Linked DNA regions of Homo sapiens: region 2 is linked to region 1. Evidence: promoter capture Hi-C in human tissues and cell types (Jung and others, 2019). All regions are on one chromosome and are shown on one strand. The core of a region is centred on a gene start or on the middle of the fragment in contact, and the rest is flanking DNA. Distances in the headings are between cores, read along the strand shown. Region 1 holds the start of ST8SIA6 (ST8 alpha-N-acetyl-neuraminide alpha-2,8-sialyltransferase 6). Region 2 has its middle 39 kb from the start of VIM-AS1.

Region 1 (5,756 bases), core at 1,546-4,045:
TCTTTAGGGTTGCAAGTCAAGCCTGGAAATGTTAAGCTACCAAATGCACACTTTTCCAGTAGTGGTTCTATGGCTAATAATGTTAAGGTATCATTTTCTTGTCAGGTTTCTTTCTCTCTCAAGGATGAGCAAGATAATTCATATCTTACCCACCCAGGTCTTAAATTAGAAAGCTTGTGGTAAAGTTCCCTACTGTCAAATTTTAACACTGGGCTCAGAATTCCCATTGCAAATTTACACTTGTTTTTCCAATTAAAATGGGCTTTTGTGAGTCCCCTGCTGATAGCCATTGGCTTGATAAAAAGTAACTTCATTTGCAGCAAGGGTGTTTAGGGAACCCAGTGCAAGGCTGACTCTTCTGCTGTTGCCTTGAGCCCAGCTGTGCTGAAATATTAAACTTTAGTAAATTAGGTGAAATTGCAGCTTCCTGGCTGATACAATAATGCCTTTTTCTTTTTCTGCAAACCATGTTCAGCATTAGTTTTCTGCACAATTTTCTGCACTGAGATAAAAATTGGAATATCTTTCAAATCCAGGCAACTCTTCATTTTCTAGATGATTGTGCCATATTCTACTTATTTAACAAACGGCTTAAACTTTGAAATATGTAGAACTAGATTTCTGTATTATTCTATCACTACCTGAGTATAGCATTACTTTATGTCATACTCAGATGAAGCAACTGAATCCCTACAAATATTAGTTTTATATAAAAGTAGAAGCCTGTTTTTATTCCTGATTAGTACATATATTAACAGCAGTGATGAGCTATAGAAGGAAATCACATTCCTAGTCACATTTATTTTTAGTTTTTTTGCTCCATTTTCTCTTTAAAAATAACACTAGTTCTTATGTGCTTTTATTCATTGACTAAACATTTATTGATCAATTATTATGTGCAAACTTCTGTTTTGTATTCAACAAGATGTTTTTAGAGTAAATCCGGAATTAGCAGAAAGAGACTAGGGACACTGGTATCTCTTGCCTTGATATATGTTTTCTTGTGATGGAATCTTTGGTGACAGCTTTATTTGGCTGTCTGGCCTGGTTGCTCCCAAATGGCTCTCACTTGGGCCTCTTTCAGGTGAAGACCATATGCTTCTAGGAGATGTCAGTTGAAATATCATATTTTTGTTGCTTGGGAAAGTTAACTCATGAAAGCCTTTTCAAAATTGAAGTCATTTCAAAAGATCTTATCAAGGTACTCCCAAGATGGTGGAATCCAAGGGTTGCATTTGGAAAAATCTCGAAACTATACAAAAGTAAGAGTGAATAATTTTATAAGCCTGCATATAACCACAATGGAATTAAAACCTAGGGAAGTGGCTAAGTGGGGGCTTGGGCAGTCAGGATAGTTTAGGGCATAGAGAGTTGAGACCCACTTTTAAAAAAATAGAGAGCCAGTCTGTTTCATAGTGTCATTGGATCACTCTCCTGCAACAGATGAGATACTCGTAAATGAGATACTAACCAATATGATCTAGACCGTGGTTTAGTTCTGGCTGCCATAAGAAGGATACCATAGGCTGGGTGACCGAAAGAACAGAAATTTATTTTTCACAGTTCTGGAGGGTAAGAAACCCAAGATCAGTGTGCCAGCATGGTCAGGTTCTGGTGAGGGTCCTCTTCCTGCTTGGCAGAAAGCTGCCCTCGTGCTGTGTCTTTACACTGCACAGAGCAGAGAGAGAGGAGGCAAATTCCCCGCTGCCTGCTCTTATGAGGGAACTAATTCCACCAGGAAGCCTCCACCCCATGAACTAATCAGGTATGAAAGGCCCCACCTCCAGATACCACCACATTAGATTGGGGATTTGGGTTTCAACATATGAATTTTGTAGAGACACAAACATTCAGCCCATAGCAGTGTTAAAAGAAAAACATCAGACAAATTAAATTTAGCACAGTTTATTCGAGCAAAGGGTTCATGAATTGGGCAGCACTCACAACCAGAGGAGGTCCAGTGAGGTCCACCCCATGGTGTGAGCAGCAAAGCCTGATAGGCCAAACTCAGAAGCACAGTGGAGAAACTGATTGGCTATAGCTATGCAGGCTGCCTTGTGGGGCCTGGTATAATGAGTTGGTTGCCCATGATTGGCCAGTAGCCCCCTGTTCATTACAGCCTAATGTAGGTTTCCATTGTTAGGTGGGAACTCAACGTACAGAGACAGCCTCAAGCTAATGGCCTCTTGCTTATTTAAGAGCAGTATGCAAACTTTTCCTGGAAAGTTTCAAATGGTAAATATTTTAGGCCCTGTGGGCTATGCCACCTCTGTCATCACTACTCAATTCTGCCCTTGCAGCCCTAGATCATACAGCCATATGCAGTCACTGATAATACAAAGCCATGGGCATGGAGGTTTTCCAATAAAACTATTTGCAAATACAGGCAGGGGCTAAACGGGTCTCCAGGTAGTAATGTGCTCATGCCTAAAGGTCTCCTAGCCCCTCATACCAGTTCGCTGTCCCTCTGAATCTGGGTTGAAGTAAGCACAGGTTACTGCTTCTGTTCAGTGTCATGATCCACCCAGCAATTCCCCAGTCCCCAGCTTTCTTCATGCGTGGGAGGATCCAGCCAAGCGACTGCACAGTTTTGAAAGTTTTTGAAGCGGCCCCTTTTTCTCCTCTCCTCTCTCCGCAGGCAGAGTTGTGGTGTGGCTGGGTGGTCTGCGTGGGCGTCCGGGGGATTCGCGGGCACTCGGGACGAGGCGAGGGCGCAGAAAACTTGGAGCCCAATCAGCACGGAGTTGAGCTTCCGCGCCCCAACCTTCAGGTGACCCCGCGCGGCGGCGGCGGCAGCAGCAGTGGCAGCGGCGACCGGAGCCCGCAGCAGCTCCGAGCGCCTCCGGGAGGACAGGCGGCGAGCTCGGCGAATCGTCATCTGCCAGCCGATCGCGGCGCTCCGCGGGCCGGGGCCGGGAGCCCGGGGCGAGCCCGAACGCGGCTTCTTCTCCGCCCGCCGCGGAGACTCTGCCGGGTGGGCTGCGGGCGCCCCTCGCTGCCGCCTGTGAACGCTGTGGGTGCGCGGGGCTGCGGCCACGGCGGCGGTGGCGGCGGCGGCGGGAGCCGCGAGTCGGGGCCGCCCGGGCTGTGCTTCGCCCCGGCAGCAGCGGTGGCGGCGGCGCCTGTGGCTCAGGATGCGGCCGGGGGGCGCACTGCTCGCCCTGCTCGCCAGCCTGCTGCTGCTGCTGCTGCTGCGCCTGCTCTGGTGCCCGGCAGACGCGCCCGGCCGCGCCAGGTAACCCACCCACCCGCCGGCCGCGCCCCGCGCCGCGCGCCCCGCCTGGCGCCCCCGGACCCCCAAGCCGCCCATCGCTTCCCCTCGGGCGCGGAGACTTTTGGCCGCGGCGGGGAGCAGCCCACGGGCGGCGACGGCCTGAGAGTGGAGTGGGGGAGGGGGTCGCAGGGAGGCGACCCTCCGACCGGTGGACGGCGGCTGGGGAGCAGAGGGACCGGTCAGGGCTGCGGGGGCTCTAGCGCGCATCGCTGTGGGCGAGGCAGCTGTGGAGCGGGACCTGCCGTCGGGTTCCGCATCAGGATCTCATGCTCCCCATTCTGGTCCTTGCTGTCTCTTCCTTCCCGCCCTAAGGCTCTTCCAACTCTGGGGCTGGGGACCTGGCCTGGGAGCCGGGGAGTGCGAGATCTCCCTGCCAGGCAAGGAGCGCGACTCCCAGCCTTTCAGCCAACAGCTCCCGGCGGGGTGTAGCAACTTAAGTTTTCTCCCCGGCTGTGCAGGATTCTGGTGGAGGAAAGCAGGGAGGCCACCCACGGCACCCCCGCAGCGCTGAGGACGCTCCGGAGCCCGGCGACCGCGGTACCGCGCGCCACTAACAGGTACAGCGGCGCCCAGCGCGGGCGGACTGGGGCTCGGGAGCTGCGAGCCGGGCATGGGGCGCGGCTGCACCGGCTTGGACTCGTTGGGAGTAGGCAGGCTGGGACGGCGCGAGTGAGTGTAAGAGTGTGCGTGTGTTTGAAGAGGGCGCGGGGTTGGGGGGGGGCACCCTTCACACTCCCTCAACCCTCTAAGCCTGGATGTGAATGGTCTTTGAATCAAGGGGGATCCTCCAGCAGCTGCATTTGAAAAACGGGTGCTGAGTTTTCCTCTCGACAATGGTGTGTTGAAAGCACCCCCGCCCCCGACCCCGCCACCTTTGGAGAGAAGCAGCTCAGCCTGTCTTTATGGAGGGATTTGGTTGGTTTGCTTTTTCTTTTCTATGCTTTAAAGGGCACCGGTGTTAAGATTCAGGTTTGTTTTGCGTGCTAGGAATGATTTTGTCCTTAGTGACTGGAGGCTTAAATTTTTTTTCTTATCATTCACATGTGTTTTTATTCATAGGCAGTAATTGTTTTTTTTTCAGATTGTAAAAGTAATACAGCTTTGTGCAGAAAGTTAGAAAATAGAACTGTATAAAAGAAAATGTTATTCATTCAGAGTCCTTACCTCTCAGAGACCATATTCAAGGTGGTTTTGGTCTATATTTCTTCCAGTAGTCTTTTCTATATACATATATTTCAAAAATATAACTTAGATTATACATTGCAGTTTATGTTCTGCCTTTTTTCTAAAAATCCTAGACCTATACCTGTCATTACATTCCCCTCCCCCCACAAAAACATTGCTTTGGATTGTTGCATAACTTATTATCTGAACATGCCATAATCTATTTAATAGTTTCCATTTTCAGACATTTAGGTTGCTTCTTGTTTCTGTTTTATTTTGTTTGCCATCAGTAATTCTATGAAATGCATCCTTGTATGTAAATCTTTATCTTCATTTCAAATTAATTACCCAAGATGGACAGACAGGAGTTGAGATTAGTAAGTCAAAGAGTATGTACTCTTTAGATTCTAAGTCACATTGTCAGTTGCTTCCTCGAAGGGCTGAATCAATTTACATTTTCACAAGCAGAATGTACTGCTTCCTGCCTTAGCATTGCTATTATGATTGCAATCTGCTATACGGTCTCTTTTCCTCTTTTTATCTCTTGCAAATCCCTTTTCTTCTGCGTATGCTTCTCTATATTCTTGGCTCTTGGATCCACCTTAATCTTCTGATGGTGTAACTCCAGGAAGCTCTAGCACGGCTCTAAGAAGGGTCTGGAAGTGGCTGGATAAACCCTGAATTGAGGAACACCACTGCCTGCCACCCCCTCATTGGAATTTCACAGCATATTAGAGGCACTAGGACCTCCTGGAGTAACAAAAGCTTTTGAGAAAAATAGTGTCCTATAGTTTTATTCTATTCAGGTTGGTGTACTATAGGTAGCCTAGCTTTCTTGATGAGCTGAGAAGCATTCCATCTTTTCCCGAGTCCTGTGGCTATTACACATTCGAGGGTTGACCCTTGGGGAAAGTTGGAAAGAATGTACTCATTAAATGGTTTGATCTCAGGTCGTTTTTAGAGGTAATCTTTGATGAATTTTTCACTTTCTTTTGACATACTTCTTTTCTACTTGGCATACTTCTTGGGCTAATATAGGTAACTCATAATTCTGAATATGGCCCATTTTATTAAGCTTTCTAAAATTTATACCATTCTGTGTTTGTAAAAGCCTCTTTATGTTTTGATTTATTTTATGTCCCCTTTATCATTTATGATTTTGGTTATTTATGGAGCAGGGGTGCAAGTTTTAATCCACCATACTACTTGGTTGTATAGAGAAATTGTAATTTCTTCATTTTTCTGGAGCTGGTCTGATCTTCCCACATGAGCCTCATGGTAATAATGCTGGTAGGAATAAGGAGAGCCAACAGTTAAT
Region 2 (5,797 bases), core at 118-2,617, 180 kb after region 1:
AGTTGATTGCAATTAATCACAGACACTTCACAAACGGTCATTTAATAAAGTTGAGCAATGCTTATCCAGGTGTTTAATATGGAGGAGTGATTTCATTCCTGAAGGTGGGGGAAGAAGCTAGTGCTTCATTTGTGAGATCTGAAATGTTTTCTGATGTCTACCACCATAAATGTATTGTTCCAAATTCCCCCTTACACTCATGGTCTCGGAAAGGAAATAGAAAATGCGAAAAATTCACCATATATATATGTGTGTGTGTATATATATATATATATATATACACACACACACATAGATACACATATGTGGGTATATATATATATATACCCACATATGTGTATATATACATACATATGTATACATTATAGATATATACCATGTATGTAAGTATACCGTGTGTGTGTATATATATATAACATATATACCATGTATGTATACAATAGAAATAGAAAATGGGAAAAATTCACCATATATATGTATATATACATATATATACACACATACATAGTATATAATTTAAGCACCTGGAGGGCAGAGTCTTTATCTTGTTCACTGTGTATCCCTAGCACTTAAAATCTTATCTGACACACAGAAGAGACCAAGTTTTTTCTTTTCTTTTTTTGTTTTTCTTTGTTTTTTTGAGATGGATTCTTGCTCTGTCGCCCACCACCGCCTTGGCCTTGGATCTGCCCGCCTCAGCCTCCCAAAGTGCTGGGATTACAGGTGTGAGCCACTGCGCCTGGCCTGTTTATTTGTTTTTGAGACAGGGTCTCTCTCTGTTGGCAGGCTGGAGTGCAGTGGTGCAGTCATAGCTCACTGCAGCCTCAACCTCCCAAGGTCAAGCGATCCTCCCACCTCAGCCTCCCAAATAGCTATAGTAGCTAAAAGTACAGGTGCACAACACCATGCTCAGCTAATTTTTATATTTTTTGTCAAAACAGGGTTTCACCATGTTGCCCAGGCTGGTCTCAAACCCCTGGGCTCAAGTGATCCTCCTGTCTCAGACTCCCAAAGCTCTGGGATTCCAGGCATGAGTCATTGCACCTGGCCAAGGCTAAGTACTTTTAAAATTGTACTCTTAACAGACTTTTTTTCTTGTGTTGCTGTAGTTTTAACTCCTTAAGTCAAATATTCTGATTTCTGAATGTCTTTCTGCAACCACAGGGAGAACTTTACCAGATATTATGCAGATCAAATTTAAGATGTGAATAAACAAGAATAGAGAAGTAGACTTCATATATATTTGATTTCTCAAGAAAGTGTTCCTTTACTTCCCTTGCTTTATTCTGTCGCATCTTATTTATTTTGCTTTATCAATTCAAAGATATCATCTCAGTGTTTATTTTCACAAGGGGAGCCTGTGAGGTTGGGGGAGCTACTGTTTCTTTAGGGAAAAAGAAGCAGTGGTCTGGGCACGGTGGCTCATGCCTGTTATCCCAGCACTTTAGGAGGCCGAGGTGAGTGGATCACTTGAGGTCAGGAGTTCAAGACCAGCCTGGCCAACGTGGTGAAATGCCGTCTCTACTAAAAATAAAAAAAAATTAGCTGGACGTGGTGGCAGGCGCCTGAAATCACAGCTACTTGGGAGGCTGAAGCAGGAGAATCACTTGAACCTGGGAGGTGGAGTTTGCAGTGAGCCAAGATGATGCCACTGCACTTCAGCCTGGGTGACAGGGCGAAACTCAGTCTCAAAAAAAAAAAAAAAGAAGAAGAAGAAGTGGCAACTATAATAACTACAATGTACTCTTTACACAGCAAGGTCTTTGTGTAAAAAGAGGGCATTTACGTAAGTTTGAGGTAAATATAAAAATAACTTCCTCAGGCTTCCAAAACCCTTCACTATGCCCTATATTCTCTCTTTAACCAGAAATGAATAAAAGTGAAATCTAGAATGAGGTTAATATTTTAGAAGTACTGTGATCCCATCTGTTTGGTAAGAGAGAAATAATATAACCTTCACATTTTTAAAGTTCTTTCAAGAAGATTTGAAGTAAGTACAAGAAGGAATATAGGTTCATAACTTTGATCTACTACAAGTCATAGATATTTTAGGTTTCTATAGGAGGGATGGTGTGCGCCATAGCTGAGCCTGGTGTACATCATTCTTTTATAGCTATACATAGTGTTCATTTGCCTTCAAATTTGAGATATCCATTAACCTGAGGTTTCTATATTTATGTTTCAAGATAGCTGGAAAGAGCAAGAATCAACAAAAGGTGATGATTTAATAGGGGACAATTGTGTCATATTCTTAGACTAGTGAGTGGGAAGACTTCAGATTAGAAAATAACCAAAAGTAAGACTTTATTATTATTATTATTTGAGAGGGAGTCTCACTCTGTCACCCAGGCTGGAGTGCAGAGATGGGATCTCGGCTCACTGCAACCTCTGCCTCCCAGGTTCAAGTGATTCTCCTGCCTCTGCCTCCCAAGTAGCTGGGACTACAGGCGCACACCACCATGCCCACCTAGTTTTTGTATTTTTGGTAGAGGTGGGGTTTTACCATGTTGGCCATGCTGGTCTCAAACTCCTGACCTCAAGTGATCTTCCCACCTCAGCCTCAAGACTTATATTATTTTAACATTGAATTAGAGACTATAGGGTGAATTTTAAGGAACTGAATAAAAATTATCATTTTCTTTAATAAAAAAGTTGTATGATGTTTATAATCCTAAATAAAAGAAGGTTACACTGTTATTTTGAGTTTTTCTGTTTGACGATCTTCAACTCACTTATTTCTGGAGTATCAAAATAAGGTGGGAACTGGGTCCTACCAAGCTGCTGGGCTTCTCTATTTGAAAAAAATGAAGAGTTAGAATCATCAAGTTCATGTCATTCACACTTTGAAGTTATTTTACATAAACTTTAAAGTTTTAAAAAATCACTGTAAATTGAAATAGAGCCCAAGGTTAAGAAAGCAATTAGCGGGTTTGGAGGAGAGGCAGGAAATAGCTATTTGACTGAGCCAGTTTCTGAATAATGCTATAATTTGGATTTAATCTTCTGGCCGTGTGGTTTGTTATGCAGTCCGCTTTAAGACTTTCTCAAAATATTGAATACTTTTATGGAGTTCTTGATTGCCAACTATAGATTATATCATGCTAACATAGTTTTATTTCTCAGGTTTTAATGAAACTCTTATTCTTAAAAGAAAAATTCAGCATATTGATTCTTCTTTACTCATGTAATAAGCTCTGCAATATCATAGTAAAACACACTGGCTTCATTTTTTATGTTAGTAGTGTTTTGATATAAAATTCCTGTTAATTTTCCAGCTAATAGAACAGCAGTGTGTTCTGATTCAAATTGAGACTGGCCAGCTTTGTTGTGCGTATTTGATGGAAAATAATTGCCCTCCCTGCATGTCACCTAGCTAAATGGATTTTATCTCATTTCTGAGACGTTTTATATACCATAATCACATGGAACTTGAAAGGGACATGAAAGCTTGCCTGTGCTGGCAAATCTCACCTTATTTGAACCATTATTATGTGTTAATTTCCTTCTGTGAGTTTTTGCTCTGCCATTGATTATAAATCGGAGTCTATTTTTTCCAATGTATTAGTCATCAATACTTATGACATTTATAGATGGGTGGAACGTGGTAATTTTCAGTGATTTTTCATATACCTTGTCCCATTTGGCCCAAGGGGGCATTCTTCTTCATTTTGCAAAAGGGAAGGCCACAGCTCAGCAGGATCAAATGGCTCCAGGTAGACCCACAGTGGATGAATGACAGAGCCAAAAGCTGTGTTGTATTTCTGGCCTTGAGGATTGGTAGAGCTGTCTCACTCCACATGGGATGAGTTTTTAAGATGTCCATCATAAAATGCCAGCAACAATAATCTATGGTAATCATCATAGATGTTGGATTGAAGCTTCAATTTTCTAGAACCACTGCCTCTAAAGGAGCTCTAGTGTGTCCTACAAAAGGGTTCTATTTCATCTTTTGGTGTACTTCAGGAACTAGAAGTTTTCATACTAGAGATTCTCCAGAGGATACTGAATTATTTAAACTACTGAAAAGCTACCCTGAGAAGAGTGAGGGAACCACTTGAAAGATTATTTTAATGTAGAAGGATAATGGAACAATTTGCTGAGTTTTAAACCACCACATTAGCAAGCCAGTTGCTAAGCTAATTACGCCTCCAGCCCCATGTTGTGCCACTGAAAGCTGAAGTCCTCAACCAGTTGCCTCATTTCCATTCTCCTGTTTTGAGAGCCTGCATTTCTCCCAATGAAGAGGTAAACTGTTTCTTCTCTGGGAAAGCAGGGGGCTGCCTGACATTGACTTTCATGCTGCACCCTTTTGTGCTTATTATCCCGTAAAAGGGAGTCCCTGTCTCCTGCCACTGAAGTGTACCTAACACCTGGATTGTTGTGAGACGTGCACACTTTGCCTAGGTGAACTGTGAATTTTTGCAAAAATGTATCACTATTATAAAGGGCCCTGCCCTACACTGTTGTTCATCACATGCAGGATGTATAGTAAATGTCAGCTAATGGAGTAATCATTCGTCTAAGACTTTCCAGCTCCTTTTCTTAAGCTGGCAACACCTGTGCTAGGTGCTTTTATGTGTGTTTATTTTAAAAGAGAAGAAGGAGGCTTAAAGGGGAGAGCAAAGAAGCTGGCAAGCACCAGCTTAAGAAAAACGTTAGCAATTAAGATAGTGGGAGAGGCTGGGTGTGGTGGCTGACACCTGTAATCCCAGCGCTTTGGGAGGGCAGGGCAGGTGGATCACTTGAAGTTGGGAGTTCAAGACTAGCCTGGCCAAAATGGTGAAACCCCGCCTCTACTAAAAATACAAAAAAATTGGCTGGGTATGGTGGCACGCATATGTACTCCCAGCTACTTGGGAGGCTGAGGCAGAAGGATCACTTTAACCTGGGAGGCAGAGGCTGCAGTGAGTCAAGATCATGCCACAGCACTCCAGCCTGGGCAACAGAGAGAGACTCTGTATCAAAAAGGATAGTGGGAGATAGGGTGGGGCACAGTGGCTCACACCTGTAATCGCAGCACTTTGGGACCAATCCCACATTTCCCTTCTGCACTGCCCTAGCAGAGTTTCTCTATGAAGGCTCCGACCCTGCAGCAACTTTTTGCCTGGACATCCAGGAGTTTCCATACATCCTCTGAAATCTAGGCGGAGGTTCCCAAACTTCAATTCTTGACTTCTGTGCACCCACAGGCTGAATACCACATGGGAGCTGCCAAGGTTTGGAGGTCACACCCTCTGAAGCAACAGCCCAAGCTGTACTTTGACCCCTTTTAGCCACAGCTGGAGCTGGCACAGCTAGGATGCCGGGCACCAAGTCCCAAAGCTTTGGGAGGCCAAGGCCAGTGGATCACGAGGTCAAGAGACCGACACCATCCTGGCCAACAGGGTGAAACCCCATCTCTACTCAAAATGCAAAAGTTAGCTGGGTGTGGTGGTGCATGCCTGTAGTCCCAGCTACTCGGAAGGCTGAGGCAGGAGAATTGCTTGAAGCCGGGAGGCGGAGGTTGCAGTGAGCTGAGGTTGCGCCACTGCACTCCAGCCTGGTGACCAAGGTGTGAGCCCCAAACCTTGGCAGCTCTTATGTGGTATTCAGCCTGTGGGTGCACAGAAGTCAGGAATTGAGGTTTGGGAATCTCCACCTAGATTTCAGAGGATATATGGAAACTCCTGGATGTCCAGGCAAAAAGCTGCTGCAGGGTTGGAGCCTTCATAGAGAAACTCTGCCAGGACAGTGCAGAAGGGAAATGTGGGATTGGTCCCAAAGTGCTGAGATTACAGGTGTGAGCCACTGTGCCCAG

Evidence for each region. Contacts are between HindIII fragments. The study calls those that stand out against the background at their distance.
Region 2: a contact is called between a fragment that was not itself captured here and the fragment with the promoter of ST8SIA6 in region 1, in 1 of the 25 tissues and cell types used here (IMR-90 fibroblasts).

Annotation. Positions count from the first base shown.
Region 1 is chr10:17,451,634-17,457,389 of GRCh38, reverse strand. ST8SIA6 (ST8 alpha-N-acetyl-neuraminide alpha-2,8-sialyltransferase 6) reads left to right here and starts at 2,795. Exons shown (of 8, transcript NM_001004470.3): 1 at 2,795-3,235; 2 at 3,733-3,831. The coding sequence starts at 3,135. The HindIII fragment of the contact is 8,458 bases long and covers 1-5,358 here.
Region 2 is chr10:17,266,244-17,272,040 of GRCh38, reverse strand. No RefSeq gene overlaps it. Among named protein-coding and RNA genes, the nearest start is that of VIM-AS1, 39 kb to the right of the region's middle. The HindIII fragment of the contact is 6,466 bases long and covers 1-4,600 here.